2 separate regions of the Homo sapiens genome follow, and region 1 is linked to region 2. The links are contacts of gene promoters, found by promoter capture Hi-C in human tissues and cell types (Jung and others, 2019). All regions are on one chromosome and are shown on one strand. The core of a region is centred on a gene start or on the middle of the fragment in contact, and the rest is flanking DNA. Distances in the headings are between cores, read along the strand shown.

What was found. Contacts are between HindIII fragments. The study calls those that stand out against the background at their distance.
Region 1: a fragment that was not itself captured here is called in contact with the fragment with the promoter of KLHDC7A in region 2 in 3 of the 25 tissues and cell types used here (liver, stomach and thymus).

What each region holds. Positions count from the first base shown.
Region 1 is chr1:18,401,659-18,404,581 of GRCh38, forward strand. No RefSeq gene overlaps it. Among named protein-coding and RNA genes, the nearest start is that of KLHDC7A, 78 kb to the right of the region's middle. The HindIII fragment of the contact is 5,671 bases long and covers 1-2,923 here.
Region 2 is chr1:18,479,122-18,482,304 of GRCh38, forward strand. It overlaps KLHDC7A (kelch domain containing 7A), which reads left to right and starts at 1,809. Exons shown (of 1, transcript NM_152375.3): 1 at 1,809-3,183. The coding sequence starts at 1,861. RefSeq lists enhancers at 887-1,759, 1,760-2,631. The HindIII fragment of the contact is 16,937 bases long and covers 1-3,183 here.

The DNA of each region.
Region 1 (2,923 bases), core at 306-2,805, 78 kb before region 2:
CTCAGCAATCCTCTCACCTCAGCATCCCAAGTAGTTGGGACTACAGGCATGCACCACCATGCCCTACTAATTTTTGTATTTTTTGTAGAGACAGGGTTTCACCATGTTGCCTAAACTGATCTCAAATACCTGGGCTCATGCAATCCACCAGCTTTGACTTCCCAGAGTGCTGGGATTACAGGTGAGAGCTACCACGCCCAGCCTTCAAAAAGCATTTATTGAGCTCCCACATCTGCAGGTTGGCTGGGGAGCTCTGCTCTGGGCTGGACTCCTCTTGGGCAGCTGGACCAGGGCAGCTGTGCTCCATATGTTTCTCATTCTGCTTCTAGCTGGCTAGCTCGGGCACATTCTCCAGCAACTACAGCAGAGGGCCAGTGGAACCATGCAAGGCGTCTCCAGTCCCAAACTCAGAATTAGGCTCACTGCCTCACTTTGTTTTATTGGCCAAAGCCAGTCACATGGCCAGGTTCACAGTCAGAGGGTGAGAAATGCTCTCTGTCTACTAGTGAGAGGCAATGCAAAATCACATGGCCAAGGGCACAGATACCCGGAGAGCTGAAAAAGAGAGACAAGGGCCAGTCCAGGCCTGTTATGGGATGGGAAGACCCTGTACAGATGAGTTATGAGGGTCCTTCAGGCTCCCAGGACTTTTAGAGCATCATTCACTCATTCACTCATTTGTTCAGTGAGCAGTATTCATGGTGCACTTGCTGTGTGCTGGTCCTGTTTTAGTGCTATGTAGACAACTTGAGTAAAACGAGACAAGGTCTCAACCCTCGGGATAAAGAAGAGGTTCCACTTCTTTTTTCTGGCTCTTCCACCCACTTTCTCTGTGACCTTGGGAAAATCACCTCCCCTCTCAGGGCATGGCAGCCACTGCTAATAATACCTTACATTTGTAGAACACTTTTAACTTTATCAAAACGTCTTCACATGCGTTCTCTGTGAAGCATCGGAGACCGGTTTTATTACATCTCTGATTTGACAAGTGAAACTCTAATGGATATAAAATGCACTGAGCTCCTTGGAAGTGCTCTCTTGAGAGGGCTCGGTGGGGCAAAACCCCTTATAACAAACCCTAGGATTCTCTCTCTACAACAAAGCGGGTCCCTGGGTATCTGCTGACGGTTGTCATTTCAAACAATGTTTGGGGCCACACAATCCCTGTGTGACCCAAGGACTGGGATGGCTTCCTTTATCTTTCCTTTTATTTTAAAAAGCCACCACTCTGAACATTTCAAAGATTCCTGCAGAACTTTGCCAATTTAATTTAAAAGAAAAAAATAAAAAGATTGCCTCCTCCTAACTGGCTTCACAAATGAAAATGGGATGTAAGCCAGGCCTCAGAGAACAGCCTAATCACTCCAGCTCCTCATTTAATAACCTCAGGAAACCAGGCTGCGCATTTTACGAGGAGAAAAGAGAGACAGAAGCAGCCCTTCCTCCCTGTCCCATCAAGTCAATCTCAGCCCTCGGATCTGGGGTTAAACACAAAGACAGCCTCCTTTGCCGAGGATACATGTGCTGCATCTTATAATCCTGCCTCTCCTTATGCCAGTCCTGTAAGGCATGAGCACCATTTCACAGGTAAGTAAAGTGAGGTTCAGCAAGACAGCAAGTCACACTAATAAGAGCTAATAAGAAGTTGAGCTGGGTTTGAGCTGAAATCCCTTTGAACCCAAATGCCACGTTCTTTGCTCCTTCCCCACACCACCTCTTTGCTATGTGGGGTGGTTTCATATTGCAGGGGACCTGATACCAGGTTTAGTGAATGCAAAAGGAAAGAAGGAAATGGAGAGGGAAGAAAGGAAGTGGGGGAAGGGAGGAAGGAACGAAGGTAGGACAATATTTATGGTGTGGCTACCATGAGCCCAGCACTATTAAAAGCTGACCTCCATGTGTGATGTGCCATAATTGAAGAAAAAGGCACCCTGGAGACACAGAGGAGGAGCCCCCAGTGTGGCCTGGGGGGAAGGCTTACCAGTGAAGATGCTATTGATGGATGAATCAGGAAGGAGCCAGGAGCAAAGGTAGGGCTGGAAGGTCAGAACGAGCCCTTGTTGGGCTCCTTGATCAAGGCCTACTGACTTCACCTCCTCAGTATCTCTTGGATCCACCTATGTCTGTCCATCTCCACACCCACCCAAGTCTGTGCTTTGTCTGGACTGTGAGATGCCCTCCTCCCCTGCCTTCTGCCTCTGCTCCTCCAGACCTTTCTCTACAAAGCAGCCAGAGTGGTCTTTCCTAAAGCAAATCAAACAAAGCCTCCTTCTCTAACTCAACCTTTCCTTGGCTCTCCATTTGCTCTGGGGAGCCGTACTGGGGGTCTCTAAGGTCCTACATGTCCCAGGTCTCACTTTGTACTGCACTCTCCTTCCCCTCTAGACTCCAGTCACATGGGCCTGGGCACAGGGGCCTGGTGCTGATCTTTCTGCCCAGGGATGTCTGGCTGCCCCTGTTCACCTGGTTAATTTCTACAAATCCTTTAGCTTCAAGTCAACTTTACACTTCATCCATTCTTACATCCAATGATTATTTATGGCACACCTAGGCACTGTTCTAGATGGTGGCAGTCCAGGTGTCTGTCTTCATGAAGCTTAGTTGTTAGAAGCAGAACCTTCCAGGGTGAAGCCTTCTCTGATTATTCTCAGAGCCAGGTGACTGTAGCAGGCGCTATTGGTGCTCCGTCCCAACAACTCAGCCCACCCGGAAGTTGCCTAAGGCTCTGATAAACAGTTCTCATACCCCGAGATGATGTCCTGCCTCAAAATAGGATATCTCTCTGACTGAAGGCTTTCTCTGGACATACAAATCCAAGTGCAGGGCCAGCCAGGAACACCTGGGAGTTAACACCCCCAGAACAACCCACAACAATAAAGGATAGGAATTGGTGAGTGTATCAGTTATCTATTGCTGCATAATA
Region 2 (3,183 bases), core at 559-3,058:
TGGTGCAGGGCCCCACATAGGCTTAGGGTCCACAGCTGAGCCAGCTACAGCCTCTGTCCTCAAGGACTTAGAATGCAGCAGACCAGATCTTGCACACAATGCACTTTACGATGCAGCAGCTGTGGCCAAGCCTAAAAGAGGAGCATCAGAGAACACGAGACCCAAAGGAAGAAAAGGTGATCTTGGACGGATGAAGGCACCAGGGAAGAAGGCCCAGACACAGCCTTTTACCCAACTCTGATGGGCCAGAGGGATGTCCACCAGCCTTCCCTGCCAAGAAGTCACCCTGAGCCCGGTTTGCTAGGCAGTGATCAGGAGATGCATCTGGAAGAGTAAACCGAAGCTGGTACACAGAGAGTTGTGAACGTCGGCATAGGGAGTCAGGATTGTCTCCTAGAGTCAAAGCCTTCAGAGCCAAATTCCTCCCATGCGTGTGCTTCCTGTGGCCCACAGTGTTTTTCAGTTTCATTTTTGAATCAGATGCCAACATTTTAAAATTGAGAGTGATTATGTCACTACTGGGATTCTAAGCTTTTTGCGACAGTGGGAGGATGAGGCAATGCTGGGCCTGATACCATCGGCTGGGGTGGGGCGGACAGACGTCCTTACTTGTTCACTTTACCTACCCAGCCTCCATATGCAGCAAGAGTTTGAGACCCCTGCACAGGACTTTGGGGACTCTTTGAGGACCTTGGTCAGGAGAAGGGTAGAATTAGTTCTGTGCTTTGGAAGGTCCTCTGATGACAATTGATACTAGCGATGATGGTGCCGATGATCAGAAAGAGGAAAAGGAGGAAGAAGCAGAGAATAGTTCATATTTACTAAGCTTTCATGATGGGGGCTCTGCCCCAGTGTTTATTCCTAGTAGCCCATTTAGTTCTCCCCACAAGCTGATGAGGTGCGTATGCTGTCATCCTCCTTTTTCAGACAAAGCACAGAGCGGTGAGGTCTCTTGCCTAAGGTCATATAGTTGGTAAGTAGCAGAGCCAGGTAGTCTGGGTCCAGGACCCACAGCACTGGTGATGGGGGAGGGGAAATGGTGAGGGGGGGTCTGGGAGACGTGAGTCTTCCCTCAATCTTTCACCGTAGGAGATTGTCTGGTTTTAAAAGAGAAGATGTGTCCACATCTAACCCCGATCTGAGCACTAATGCAATGTCTTTCTCCACTGTTCTCAGAAAGGCTGGTTTTTCTTAATAAACTTGTCAGGCAGGGAAGGAGGGCAGAGGCACTCAAGGGCCGGCTCAGGTGGCTTGGCTGCATGCCCTGGCTCCAGACTCCACTGCCATGTTCCCGTTCCCTGCTTGGCCAGCATAAAGTTGACCCCACTGTGAGGACCAGCAGACCTCACAAGAATGACCCCATCCACGCCTACTGGGGCTCCACCTGCCCATGACTCACCACACCCAAGCCTCTGAGCCCAGTGGACTTGCAAAAGAGAAAATAAAGCACACACATAAAGAATAACCAACCCCATGCATTTCCTGGCATCGGGTGACTGTTTGGTTAAGAGCTTCCTCCTCTTTTGTATGCCCACTGGATACTCCTAACATCCCCTAGCTGCTGACCACAGAGCTGGCTTAGGTGGCTGATCACAAGCTCAGCCCCTGGGCGGGCCCCCCACCCCAGCCACCAGGGAAGCATGGAAGGAGGCCAGCCGCTGGGATCTGCCAGCTCTGGGCCCCAGCGGCCACCCTCTGCAGCTCAAAGTCACCTTTGCTCCTCTCCTCTCCTCGGCTGGCCAGCCAGAACCAGCCCAGAACTCCCTCCCCTCCGCTCAGCAGGACCCAGGAACTGGTCCCTACTGGGCAATTATTAATCAGATTCTTGACATTCCTCAGCCCCAGGTTGGCTGGAGAAGCATGTTCCCCAGAGGAGCAGAGGCCCAGGACTGGCATTTGGATATGCAGCTGACCGGCAAGGTGGTGCTGTCAGCCGCTGCCCTGCTCCTGGTGACTGTGGCCTACAGGCTGTACAAGTCGAGGCCTGCCCCAGCCCAGCGGTGGGGTGGGAATGGCCAGGCAGAAGCCAAGGAGGAAGCAGAGGGCTCAGGGCAGCCTGCTGTACAGGAGGCTTCTCCTGGGGTGCTCCTGAGGGGGCCAAGACGTCGGAGGAGCAGCAAGCGGGCTGAAGCACCACAGGGCTGCAGCTGTGAGAATCCAAGAGGCCCCTATGTCCTGGTCACGGGGGCCACTTCCACAGACAGGAAGCCCCAGAGAAAAGGCTCAGGTGAGGAGCGGGGCGGGCAGGGCTCGGACTCTGAGCAGGTGCCTCCTTGCTGCCCCAGCCAGGAAACCAGAACAGCTGTTGGCAGTAACCCTGACCCTCCCCATTTCCCCCGCTTGGGCAGCGAACCGAAGAGCTCCCCAGCTGGACTCATTGCAGCAGCCGACGGCAGCTGTGCCGGTGGTGAGCCTTCTCCATGGCAGGACAGTAAACCCCGTGAGCATCCAGGACTGGGGCAACTAGAACCTCCCCACTGTCACTACGTGGCTCCCTTGCAAGGCAGCAGTGACATGAACCAGAGCTGGGTCTTCACCCGTGTGATAGGGGTCAGCAGAGAAGAGGCTGGGGCTCTCGAGGCTGCCTCCGATGTTGACCTGACCCTGCATCAGCAGGAGGGCGCCCCCAACTCCTCCTATACCTTCTCATCCATAGCCCGCGTCCGAATGGAGGAGCATTTCATACAGAAGGCGGAGGGGGTTGAGCCCCGGCTCAAGGGCAAGGTGTACGACTACTATGTGGAATCTACCTCTCAGGCCATCTTCCAGGGCAGGCTGGCTCCCAGGACAGCAGCCCTGACTGAGGTTCCATCCCCTAGGCCACCGCCAGGGTCCCTGGGAACAGGGGCTGCCTCGGGAGGCCAAGCCGGTGACACAAAGGGTGCAGCCGAAAGAGCCGCCTCCCCGCAGACAGGGCCGTGGCCCTCCACCCGAGGCTTCAGCCGGAAGGAGAGCCTTCTGCAGATAGCGGAGAACCCAGAGCTGCAGCTGCAGCCAGATGGCTTCCGGCTCCCCGCTCCACCCTGCCCAGACCCGGGCGCCCTGCCTGGCTTAGGCAGAAGCAGCCGGGAGCCCCATGTGCAGCCGGTGGCCGGGACCAATTTCTTCCATATCCCGCTCACCCCTGCTTCAGCCCCACAGGTCCGCCTGGATCTGGGCAATTGCTATGAGGTGCTGACCTTG